Regions from separate parts of the Homo sapiens genome. Here region 1 is linked to region 2. Evidence: promoter capture Hi-C in 16 types of primary human blood cells and fetal thymus (Javierre and others, 2016). All regions are on one chromosome and are shown on one strand. Each heading gives the region's core, a stretch centred on a gene start or on the middle of the fragment in contact. The rest is flanking DNA. Distances are from core to core; before and after follow the strand shown.

Evidence for each region. The method cuts DNA at HindIII sites, captures the fragments that hold promoters and counts their contacts. A CHiCAGO score of 5 or more calls a contact.
Region 1: a contact is called between a fragment that was not itself captured here and the fragment with the promoter of CPN2 in region 2, in 2 of 17 cell types (megakaryocytes and naive CD4 T cells). The highest score is 6.0, in megakaryocytes.

The regions. Positions count from the first base shown.
Region 1 is chr3:194,401,197-194,408,027 of GRCh38, forward strand. ATP13A3 (ATPase 13A3) reads right to left here. Exons shown (of 34, transcript NM_001367549.1): 34 at 1,481-4,920. The coding sequence ends at 4,723. Among named protein-coding and RNA genes, the nearest start is that of GP5, 5.3 kb to the left of the region's middle. RefSeq lists an enhancer at 1-6. The HindIII fragment of the contact is 183 bases long and covers 1,893-2,075 here.
Region 2 is chr3:194,349,349-194,355,686 of GRCh38, forward strand. CPN2 (carboxypeptidase N subunit 2) reads right to left here and starts at 1,980. Exons shown (of 2, transcript NM_001080513.4): 1 at 1,894-1,980. It overlaps LRRC15 (leucine rich repeat containing 15), which reads right to left. Exons shown (of 2, transcript NM_130830.5): 2 at 5,901-6,338. RefSeq lists an enhancer at 1,456-2,305. The HindIII fragment of the contact is 6,903 bases long and covers 1-6,338 here.

The sequences.
Region 1 (6,831 bases), core at 734-3,233, 52 kb after region 2:
CTTCTATCCTTCAAGACACCATAAAAAAGGGGAAAAGATAAACCACAAACTAAAGATATTTGTAACACCTATAGCTGACAAAGGCTTAATGTCAGAAGATATAAAGAATCATGGGATCCAATCCCCTTTGATGCAGCCTAATGCAGTCAGAGCCCAGTAAAGGCTGGGTTGACTGAAATTACCTTCAAAGTCACGCAGCCCTGGACCACAGGGAAGAGCCACTGCCTCTGCCAGGTATCGCGGGAGGTCTTTCAGTTCCGATCAAGGAATGCAACTCCAGAGCCCTGAACTGCTACACTGGTGACCTGGTAAGTCCGTCATGCATAGGCACATCGAGTGAAAGCCTCCCCGCCCCCTTGCCCATGAAATTGCCAGGGAGCCAACATGACAGACTGGGAAGGCGAGCTGTGAAACAGAGTAAGATGCCGATGGCTCAAATTCCTGTGGCCCTTCTTTAGCCTATTTCCCCAGGAAAACCTCCAGTCAGAATGGCCTCTACATTTTGTCCCTTAGGAAGACACTTTGATTGTCCAGGAAGGGAAAAGTAGGTATGGCAGTTGCAGAGTGGGGGAACACTCTTAGTCCATCCACTGAGCAAGTTGATGAGGTAATGAGAAGTATTTGGAGCAAGGAAGTTGACAGCTCCAGTGCTTCCAAGTCTTAAGATTCTGTATCCATTACCAGGTCAGAAGTCTGCTGTAAAACAGTTACCTGGCTTAAGGGGCTTGGCTATTCAAAAGCAGGTCTGTGCCTGGGTGAGATAAGCCTTTTTCCTCTGAGGGAGACTCAGTGGGCCGGGCACAGCAGGGAGCAACCACACCCCAACTTGGACCACGGACAGTCTCACTCAAGCCCCTAGGACTCCCTGTCCCTTGGCAGTGATACAGCGGAAGGAGAGACATGCAGAACTGTGCCCACACCAGCAGGCTGTGGGGACAGGATCACACATGCCGCACAAACCATAGCGACTGTTAAGAACTTGAGCTAAAGGCAGGCAGGCCCTCACCCCCCGAATTCATCACACCACAGCCAGCCACATATTCCCTAGCAGGGGCTCCGTGTCTCCCGGAGCTGAGCTCCATGGAAACAACTCCCACCCACACACAAAGGTCCTGTCTTCTCTGGGATTTTTACAACCATTTTCTCTCTCCATGGTATTAGCTTTTGGTTTGATTCTCCCAACTATTAATAGATTATAAGTCCCTACTCTTCTATTTCATTTCACCATTGCCCTCAGACCTCCTCGCATTTAACATTTGGCTCTACACTGCATCCGACTGTGGGGTTTCCCCAGGATGCTCACACACATGGCATGATATGCAGAATGTTGTTCTTATTTCCTTCAAAATCCAGTTTTTTTTAAAAAAAAAAAAGAAGGAAATGGGGAAGTATTATTAGGCAGGAAAATAAATCCACAAAGGGCAGTATTCATGTCACTAAAAAGCAAACAAATGAATAAAGACACAGAAAAAAAGTGTTATTTCATTCATTAAAATTTTTATTTTGAATAGCTTCAATCAAAAAAGGTTTCATAAGATTATTTACAATGCTGAATGTACAATTATGAATGTATGCCTTTTTGACAAGAGGGTACCATTCTTGAGCAGCAATACAATTTTAAAAATATAAAGATGCAGTATCATTTCTGATATAAAGTTACTTAAAAAAATCCAAGGTCTTAGGGAATTCACAAATCATAACTAGAAGTAACTTTTATTAATTTAATGTACACATAATTACCAAATTTTAATACATTAAAAATGTGTAAATGCCCACAGACTGTACAAAAATTAACACCCCATTTTGTTAAAAGTTCCCAACCACCTCCCACCATAAATATACAAAAACCTATTTTTAGATATGTCAAAATTGCATGCATGAATATTTTCTAAAGCTTGAATTTTGCTCTTCACTGGATAATGTTATCTATAGCTGTTTCTGTAACAGACTACATAAACATTGATATATTATTTACCATGCCTTTGAAACTGTGCAGGACTTTCATAAACATGGGGAACAAAATAAATAGAGTAAAAACTGCAACAGTTTTGTTTAGATGCAAGTGCAATTGGGAAAGCTTTCGAATTTCAGGATTATAAAACTACTATAAAAGTATTTATTCTGTTGTTGGCTTAGCCACTTGTATTCAAGCATTATTTGCAGCATTGCTTTACAGCAGTTGGTGCTAGAAGATACAAAACATATAGTTACCACTATTTATACTTGAGGGAGAAAAAAAACTTTAAACAACCCTGAGGGAGACACACATTAAAAATCTTGTTATTTATTTAAAAAGTTAAAAAGTTACATATCATTATTTAACAATTACTTTCCCAGACATTTCTGTCCTTTAAGTATGTGCATAAATAAAATTTAAATCAGCAATATTCATCTTAATACATCAAAATAATATATGTACAGATTTTAAAATTTAGGTCTGTATAAACTCAAATAATTTAATGTGAAATTCAGAATCAAAATTACTATGTAATGGTAACCTACGAGAGAAGACTCAGTCTATCTATGGCACTGAGTAGAACCCACACCTGGCTTCACAGGCATTCTTCAAATAACATTCTCAACGTGAATAACCCACCTTGTCTATATTCAAATCTAACTTCCTACAAATGCTTTTCCAGCCACCTAAACACCTCATTCCTTTGAAAACAATATGGACAGAAGAGATATAAAACCCTTACTAACTCTAAATGTTAAAAAAGTGGGGGGGGGGTGTCAAAAATAGCTCTTTATGATCATGCTCTTAAAGATGTTAAATACAATCGGATAATTGAATTTTTAAGCTGCTACTTAGCAATTACTTTCATTATATGCTTCAGTACTTAAACCAAAGAATAAAATGCACAATTGTGGAAATCACTGAAGAATAACACGAGCATATTTGAAATTAATATGGAAATTATAAAATGATCCAGAGAATAAGTAACTATAGAAAATAGTGCTAATTCACAGCTCAAGAGGTCTAAGATGCATAGCTTCATAGAATCATTCATGGAACAACTGTTATCATCTAATGTGTATTAATAGCATATTATACATTTGATGGAAAACTTCGATTATATTTTTGCAGGAATCATCAGTGGCAATAGCAGTAACAGTGATCCTGAGTGTAATTTCTATTTTTCTATAGTTACCAAACATCATCCAGGTCTTTGCAGCATAAAGAGTGAGAACCATTTGGTCCTAAAATTCTAGGTAAAATTTGGTAAATTTGTAAATATATGTTGGGAAAAGAATGATCAGCTAGAAGTAGAAAGCACGAGCAAGCATGTTACTGGCTCTGGAAGAACAGAGAACAATGTCACACTGTTTTCATAGTTTAGCGTCCATTTTATAGCACGATCAGTTTTCTGTGTTGTGGTAACTGTGGGCGTTGCCAGACTGCTGGATCCACCTATAAAAGGTGTTTTTTAAAAGTTACCTTAATTTTGGCAAGAATTTAAATGTTAATCAGGCCAAACAGAAAGGTGAAAAATGTTTCTCCACATCTCTTTTGGCTCAATGAATGTCAATTTTTTAACTTTATTTCCTCAATTTTTTTTCTCCCAGAAATTTCCGCATCAAATATGCTCATTTGTAACGATCCAATTCAAAATAGACATGTTCTGACCTCTGGCGCCACCTAATGGCATAAAACAAACTCATCAAATTCATATTGCTTTGAAAAAACGGCAGCCATTCAAATCCAGTATTTTTTAAGCCTCATTATTGATAAGACAGAGACATACATCAAACCTCAAAAAATTTTATGAGGTAAAATTCTAACTTAAAAAAAACTATTATCCTATGTCTTTAGGTAATTGAAAACATAGAAGAAAATTTTAAAAAACCATTTAAAATAACACAAAGCCTGACAGAAACAAATTTGAAGAAACGTTAAAAGATGAATCTACATCTACTGCCGAAAGAAATGAATCTTATTTCCTAGTGAAAAAGGTTCTACAACATTTAACAGAAGCAAATTAGACTGCCAACACCACACATAGCACAGGAGCCATTTAAGAGCTTTGAGAGGCGTCTCAAGAAGGCAGTGAAGCACCTTGCTGATTAGAAAAATAAAACCCAGGCAGTTTGTACAGAAAATATAAAACCAGAAATGGAGATTACCTGAGTTGTTCTATAAGCAACACCATAAACACTCATTCCTAACTCTAGACCATCATAGGGAATTGGCATATGTTTATACAGAATTCTTTGGAAGAAACATTGGAATCAAATGAAAACAGGCTTTCAGTATATTTTCACTGGAGGCTAATTAACACTCATCTTCTTTTTATCAATCACAAACTTACAGCCTGTATATAAACACAGACTTTTCTAACAAGAGGGTTGTGAGCATAAATGTGAAGAGGTAAACTAGTCTCAAAAACTAATGTTGAAAAACCTACCAAACACCAAACTTCTCCTGTACCCAATATAAAGAATATCACTGAAAGTAACAATCAAGAAAATTCTGGAAATGTATGTAATATTTGGGTTGCTGAATGAAGATATAGGACTTTATGGATTGATTGTTAATTTAACTGTTAGGACGATATATTTTTCTGTTTTTATTTTAAGGAAGAGCAAAGCTGTCAAATAAGCTACTATATCAGAAGGGACATAAACTGAACTAGTGCCATTCTGACACACAGGATCAGAAACTCCTAAAATCACATATTCCTGAATACTGCTATCAGCAATACCACTGAGACTGATTCACTGCTATGTTATGGTGATGATTTGACATGATCCATTCTCCTTAACTAAAGCTTTAGCTTCTGTGGTTGTCTGAGGTTTTGGTGGCCATTCTGGATCAACCAAGAGCTCCTGCGCCAGATACATGTACTTTGCCTTTGGTGTCTTCTTTCTACAGCCCAGGGCCCAGGGTAAGCAGCATTTTCCCCACCGATCCACTGACTCCTAAGAAAATAAGAAAAAAACAAAACAAAACACCCCAGTTGATTAAAGGCTTGTCGTTTTAAACAGGTTTGTTAAAGCACACATTAGCAGAGAAAAATAAGAGGAAATGACTTCTGAGCACAACGAATGGGGGAAAAAAAAATCCATGTTAAAAAAAGGCAGCTTTGGCCGGGCGTGGTGGCTCATGTCCGAAATCCCAGCATCTTGGGAGGTCGAGGTGGGAGGACTGCTTGAGCCCAGGAGTTCGAGACCAGCCTGGGCAACACAACGAAATGTGTGTTCTTTTGTTTTATTTTGTAAGGGCAGCTTTCAATTATTTAGGAACTGATTATTCTTTAGATTATATTTTTTTTGGGGGGATAATCAATATGATTGACTTCATTTAGTTTTATATACCTATACTCTTGTGTACTAATACCTTTTAAATAACTTGCAGATATGGATTCTTTACCACAGAATATCTAATGTATTAAGAACTTTAAGCCATTCAGAAAGAGAAAACATTTTTAATATTTAATTTGAAAATCTTCACATTCTGTCCCAAACTATCTTTTGGTACTATTGCTCCTGGCAACTTAGCCGCATGATCATTTTTGGAAGAAAGCTGTGTACAAGTATCCTTGTTACTGTTAATATCATCTCTCAAAACATGAAGTAAATATCGTTTGGTCAAAATTAGGGCTTCAATCATGTTTAATGTCAATTACGTCTTTTAAAACCTCATCCTTACTAATATAAAAAACAATACTGTTTTATAATGATGGTTTCCGTCGGTGCTCCACGACTGGAAAGGGGTATAAAACAAGTACTATTGCTTAGTATTATTTCATTGCAAAAAGCTCTGCTGTCACTGAAATCCTTCTGATCAATCCTGATGTTTTTAGTGAATTTGGCCTTAGATAAATGATCCTTGGAGAACAAGAAAGCAGAGTCCCTGGTTAATGCATAGAAATGTAAACTCAATAGAGGGCTGAAAAGGGCCCTCAGAATTTGTCTCAATTGAAATTTGAAATAAATATAAATGACTACACCAGGACTCGTAGTAGTTATATTTACTTCTAAAGAACAGCCACTTCGTAATGATTTTGGCTGTTGCTTCTCCAAAATGAAATTTAAATTCCAGGTCATTTTGTTTTGCCAATCAACATATAAACCAGGCTACAACTAGCTCTAAATGCAGTAATCTCACAAGGTAGAGTAGAACATAACTGAGCTACATATTCTAATGTTACCCAAAATGCCTCATGATTTAAAAAGGCAAGTTAGCTATAGATGTATTTTGAAACATGTTTCTAAATTGGCCAATGGAGAAGAGCAAAAATACTTTAAAATTAAAGCTCTTAAAGCTTTTTCATATTAACTTGGTAGCTCTTTCTCATCCAGTTGAAACAACCATCAGGAACCTACCACTCTCTCCCTCTCCTCCCTGGCCCCGCTGAGAGCACGGTAAACGTGACTCACCGCTCTCAATGTTAAAGGTCTGCTAGCTTAAGCCTGTCAACAAAACACAATCAGCTGCACTGCTACCAAGAATTTAAAGGCAAAAAAGGTGGACAAAAGTAAGCTACGTGGCATTCTGGGGTGGGGACGGGGAAAGTCTGAAGATTACTCGCCTAGTAGCCTTTTTACTGTCATAACTAAAGAGAGTTATATCAGCATCACCTTAAAAAAAAAGTCCACAGGAAAATATTTAGCATTAAGGTACAGAAGTCACTATGTATAGGATTCTTCAAGTGATCCAAAATAACAGATAATGCCTTTCCAGTATAGGCACACAACAAACGTAATATTTCATCTGAGATGACAGTTTACTACTTGGATCTTACTTTTCTCCCAAGGTGTCATTTGTCAATCTAATTGTGGGAAAAAAACCACTGTTCCTAAATCAATTCGAAAGCTGTCACCTTTTTT
Region 2 (6,338 bases), core at 730-3,229:
GAAACTCCATCTCAAAAGAAAAAAATTTGTAGTCATTACCTCTGAAAAATTGAATTGTGGATGATTTTAATTTTTTCCTTCTGCTTAAAAATATATGTTCCACATTTTTAAGTAAGAAACATATCACTTTTGCAGTAAGGTTGAAACCTATTTTATTCTAAATATTGAGATAAACATGTAAAATGCACAGCACAGTTCCACACACACAGTAGGGGCTTACTTGACTCTTTCCTTCCTGGCAGTGATGTTGCAAAGGCCCGAGGGAGCTTGTCTATCCTCTGTGTTAGCTTCTGGAAGAGAAGACAGCTGACAGGTTGAACTAAGAGGCCGTTGTGAACTGGGCACTATGCGACCCTCCCAATTTATACCCACCCTCCCAGTCCAGTGCAAGTCACACTTCCCCCATGAAGCCTTCCTGACTACCCTCTTCTTTTTTTTTTTTTTTTTTTTTTTTTTTTTTTTTTTTTTTTGAGACAGAGTTTCACTCTTGTTTCCCAGGCTGGAGTGCAGTGACGCCATCTCTGCTCACTGCAACCTCTGCCTCCCGGGTTCAAGCGATTCTCCTGCCTCAGCCTCCCGAGTAGTTGGGATTACAGGCGCCTGCCACCACATCTGGCTAATTTTTGTATTTTTAGTAGAGATGGGGTTTCACTGTGTTGGCCAGGCTGGTCTCGAACTCCTGACCTCAGGTGATCCGCCTGCCTCGGCCTCCCAAAGTGCTGGGATTACAGGCGTGAGCCACCGCGCTCGGCCCTTTCTTGGGTCCTCGGATCCCTCTTGTACTGTGTTGAATGTTTGGGCTCTTCCGCTCTGTTTTCTAGTCAGTTGCACCCACCCGACTGAGCCCGTGGTACTGCAGTCTTGCTGTGGTGTCTCTGCAAGCAGCTCTGCACCCCAGCACCTGGCTCGGGGCCAGGCACTGAGAAGGCAGTCAGGCCCTGTGTGCTGAATTGAAGGAATGTGTTTGTGGCTTTCAGTGACTTCGCATCTCAGGCCTTACTCTCATCCTGCTTAGTAGCAGGGGAAAGCACTTTAGCTCCGCCAGTGCCCCCAGCTGGGATCAGATTCTGACGCCATCACCTACTAGCGGTGTGGGCTTGTGCAAATCACTCCAACTCTCTAAGCCTCAGGTTTTCCAGACTTAATTATCACCTCTGCCCTCAGAGTTCAAATTAGCACTCCATTGGATGATAAATAGGCTAAATAAGATAGTAAATAGAAAGCCCTTAACACAGCGCCTGGCACATACTGAATGTTCAATAAAAGGTGGCCCCCTGCAGGTTTATTTCACCACAAACTTTATTATATGAGCCAGCACGCTTCTGGGAAGGAAACCAGGAGCTAGTCATCCTTGGGCCTGAGCTGGGTGCTGTGGCATGCGCTTGTAATCCCAGCTACTCAGCAGGCTGAGTGGGAGGATCGCTTGAAGCCAGGAGTTCAAGACCAGCCTGAGCAACATAACAAGACCCCCATCTCAAAAAACAATAATTATATTAATAAATAATTAATAATATTTAGTATTAATATAGGATTAATAAGTAATTAGTAATACTATTTATTATTATTATGCCAAGATGACAAGTATAAACTAGGCAGAACCAGGCCAACCTGGACATCTGGTCACCCTGCTTATCCTCTACTCACTACCAGCCTTGTAGGCCAGGACTGGCAGATCTTCATCTCACAAACCCCCGCCCCACCTTCCTCCTGCCTCTTCCCAGCAGCGCCCTAGCTGAGCACCTCAGGGACTTCTCCTCCCGGGGCAGGGGCCCCCCAGAACCGCAGCCTGCCTGGAGCTGCGGAATGCTCTGAAACGGGGGAGATCGCAAGTTCCCGTTCCTGCCCCCACGTCCCTGCAGACCCTGGAGCCCTTCAGCGACCCCGGGAGCCTACCGTGAGGGCCGAGCGGGTGGCGCCGGGCTGCCCTGTCTTCCTCAGGAGCAGAGAGGAGTCTGGTGTGGCCTGTGGTCAGCTCAATCCAGCCCCAGCGCTGATCAAAGTTCCAGGCAGTGGTTCCTCCCCTCACGTGGCCCCAGCGTCCCAGAATGTCACCAGGGTCACAGGACGGGAGAGGGCCTTGGCAAGGCCTCTGAAGATTACAAAATGACCCTGAACTCCTCCCATGTACAGAGCCCTGCCGGGGCCAAAATCCCACCGAGGTTGCAGGGTTGGCACCTTCAGGACCCCGAGGACACTCAGAAAGCTCTAGAGATTCCCGCAGGCGGCTGGGTTGGTGAGGCCTGGGATGGGGTCCACGCTCACACCCATACCTGTGAGCAGAGGCAGAGGGACTGGGAGCCTGCCTTCAGCCTCAGGCCCCTGCTGGGCTCTCAGCGCCCGGAGGCATTTCAAGAGGGCTGTGGATTTGTTGTTTTGTCTTGTTGTGTTTGTTTGCTTGTTTAATGAATGAACTTTCTAAACCCTTCCTGAATTAGAAGGGGGAAAAGCTATAGGGAGATGAATTGGGGCCCAATATGGAGAGGAGCGCTCACACACTCAGGGCTGGCCGAGGACGAAAGATGCTGCTTTGGAAGGGAGGGATTTTCCCATCTCCGGAGGTGTGGAACCAGGGCTGCAAGACACACGGAGTGTGTGTGTGCTGAGTGCGTGCATCTGGGGGTGTGCATGTAAGTGGGTGTAAATGTGAGTGGCTGTAGGGGGTGTGTGGTGAGTGCATGTGTGGGGGTGTGTTGTGTGTGTAAGTGGGTGTATGTGTGAGTGGGTGTGTGCGCGCGTGGGTAGGGTGTGTGTGTGGTGAGTGCGTGTGTGGGTGCGTGTGTGGGTGTATGTGTGAGTGGGTGTAGGGGTGTGTGTGGTGAGTGCGTGTGTGGGGGTGTGGTATGTAAAGAGGGTGTATATGTGAGTGGGCGTGTGTATGTGAGTGTAGGAGTGTGTGTGGTGAGAGCACATGTGTGATGTGTGTGTAAGTGGGTGTATGTGTGAGTGGGTGTAAAGGTGTGTGTGGTGAGTGCGTGTGTAAGTGGGTGTAGGGGAGTGTTTGGTGAGTGCATGCGTGTGGGTGTGGGGTGTGTGTGTGTAAATGGGTATATGTGTGAATGGGTGTAGCGGTGTGTGTGGTGAGTGCGTGTGTAAGTGGGTGTATGTGTGAATGGGTATGTAAGTGGGTGTAGGGGAGTGTTTGGTGAGTGCGTGCGTGTGGGTGTGGGGGGTGTGAGTGGGTATATGTGTGAATGGGTGTAGGGGTGTGTGTGGTGAGTGCGTGTGTGTAGGTGTGCAGTGTGTGTAAGTGGGTGTATGTGTGAGTGGGTGTGTGTAAGTGGGTGTAGGGGTGTGTGTGGTATAAGTGGGTGTGTATATGCATGAGTATGTCTCGTGTGTGTAGAATGAGAGTGTGTGAGAAAATGTGTGGTAAGTGGGTGTGAGTGTGCAGTGAGTGGGTGTGTGGGTGTATGTGTGTGGTGAGTGGGTGTGTGTGTGCAGTGTGTGGGTGTGTGGTGTGTGTGGTGAATGGGTGGGTGTGCGTGTGTGCAGTAGGTGTGAGTGTGTTGGGGTATGTGTGTGTGTGGTGTGTGGTGAGTGGGTATGTGTGAGTGTGCACTGAGTGAGTGTGAGTGTGAGGATGTATGTGGGTGTGTGGTGAGAGCGTAGGAGTGGGTGTGTGGAGGCGAGCAGGGTGAAGGGGTGACCTGGACGAGCAGTCTAAGATCGTTTCAATGCCAGGAGTCTACCATTTAAAGTAGACTGATGGCTTTTTCACTCATTGCATGGTATTGATTTTTATCTACGCTTTTTATGAGTACAAATTAATGTTTCTTTTGCACGTGAGCTGATTGCATCAGCCAAACTGCAAAGGTCTAATGGAGTGTGGCAAGGAAGTGTGTTTCAGTGGCGATATGCCACAAATGCACTCTGGCAGAGGACAGCGGGAGCCTCTGGGATGGAGACAGGCGGTGAACAGTGTGCCCAGCTCCCCCTCAGCGGCCCCCGGGCTGGCAAGGGTGGGACAGTGGCTGGGAAAAATGGCTTGCGTGGGGGCACTCACAAGCAGTTCTGGGAAGAGCCTGGCACTGCCCTGTACTCAAGGTTCTCAAGCCATCCACACTCGCCTCCAGCAACACCGTTTGTTCATTGGTCAACGTGGCCTGGTGAACAAGAGAAATTTGGCATTGGACAGATCTAGGTTTGAATTCTGACTCTTCAACTAACTAGTCAGTCCTTAGACAAGTGATTTAATCTCTACAAGTCTCTGCATTCTCGTCTGTGGAATGGGTGTGGCAGAAGGCCTGGGGAGGTAGGAGACAGAGAGAGAGAGTGTGTGTGTAGGGTGAAACATCTGTGGAAGGGGACTTGCATTAAAAATTCCAAGGATCAGCCAAGCGAGGTGGCTCACGCCTGTAATCCCAGCACTTTGGGAGGCCGAGGTGGGTGGAACATGAGATCGGGAGATCGAGACCATCCTGGCCAATATGGTGAAACCTCATCTCTACTAAAAATACAAAAATTAGCTGGGTGTGGTGGCATGTGCCCGTAGTCCCAGCAACTAGGGAGGCTGAGGCAGGAGAATCGCTTGAACCCGGGAGATGGAGGTTGCAGTGAGCCAAGATCGCGCCACTGCACTCCAGCCTGGGTGACAGAATGAGACTTTGCCTCAAACAAACAAACAAAAAAATTTCAAGGATCTTCTGAAAGAGAAGGGATGGAGATTCTAACTCCTTTCCCCATTATCCAAAATTCCAGAAAGCTGTTTGAGTGTACTAAGGTTCAGTGGCTAGGGAAGGGCAACAAGGCCCTGCCTTGCTCATGGGAGGGGTCCAGCCCTGTAATATGATGAACATGACTGACCCCTGTTGGGCTTAATCTCCTGGGACAGGCTTACACCTGGCAGAAGGGATCTAAGACACTAGAAGAGTCCAGGTAAATATGATTGGAAGCCCTTTTCCTGTGTATAATCATGGGATAAAGGGACAGGGACAGCAGATCACCCCTCTCTTAACTGCTGGACCTGCACCAGCAGCTGTGGCACCCCCAGAACCCAAAGGCCTGAGGGAGTTCTGGAGACACCTGGACACTTGGAGGGAGTCACCTTCCTTCAGACAGTGTTGCCTGAGAGCCTGGGACTTCCTGAGCCTGGTGCTAAGTACTTAGAGGAGTCCAGAGGTGTGTAACATAGTCCTGCCACCTGCCTGCATGCATGTGTGTGTGTGCATACACACGTGTGCTTTGAACAAATGCTGACAGAACGTCAGTGGCTTCCTGGTGGCATAAAAGAACCAGCCTGGGAGCCTGAAGGCCTGGGTTGCAGGGCTGGCTCAGCCACTGGCTTACTGGTGACTATTGGACATTCATTTCCTGTCTTGAGCTCCTTTTCCTCATCTATAAAATGGATTGAACTTATCCTTCAGGTCTTTTCCAGCCACGGTGGCCTATAGATACCATTTGTTATTTTCTTTTGGGTCCCCACTTATTTTCTTTTCTTTCTTTTCTTTTTTTTTTTTTTTTTTTGAGATGGAGTCTCACTCTGTTGCCCAGGCTGGAGGGGCAGTGGCACAACCTTGGCTCACTGCAACCTCTGCCTCCTGGGTTCAAGAGATTCTCCTGTCTCAGCCTCCCGAGTAGCTGGGATTACAGGCACACACCACCATGCCTGGCTAATTTTTGTATTTTTAGTAGAGATGGGTTTTTGCCATGTTGGCCAGGCTGGTCTTGAACTCCTGAGCTCAGGTGATCCACCCACCTCGGCCTCTCAACGTGCTGGGGTTACAGGTGTGGGCCACCGCACCCGGCCTCCCACTCACTTTCCAAAGGCCTATTCTCAGCCCAGAATCTGCTTTCTGTAAGGATCTGTCCAGTTCAACCTTGCACAAACATAGAAGAGCAGAATCCACAGGTGTGAGACCACCTACCCAAGACTTCCATAGAGAGCACACACAGCCCATGTATACATGTATATTATTTATTGTTGATTCTGTACACCAAATGGATTACAAGCAGCATCCAGCAGAAGACAGACCCCCCAACCCTGCCCACCAGGGCTCACACTCTACAAAACCCTGAGGGCCTAGAAATCTGTAAATGCATCGCCAAGCACTGGGGCTGATTTGCAGTAATTCTCTAAGCAAGGCAAACATGATCTAGCTTTGAAGGCAGCATGAAGGCAGCGGGTTGGTGAGAACAATCTCTCCTTAAGAGAAGAAGAAACCTGGGGCGGAAGGAGTTTTCCCCGGAAGTGGCTTGCCAGCCCACCCTCTCTGAACCACAGCCATGGCTTCCTTCCCAAGGCCACTGCTGGCTTCCCAACAACGCAGATTCAGTTCTGACTGTGGGATCTGGGGGCTGAATCTTTGAGTGGTTTATAGCTAAAAGCTAGGATACATCTA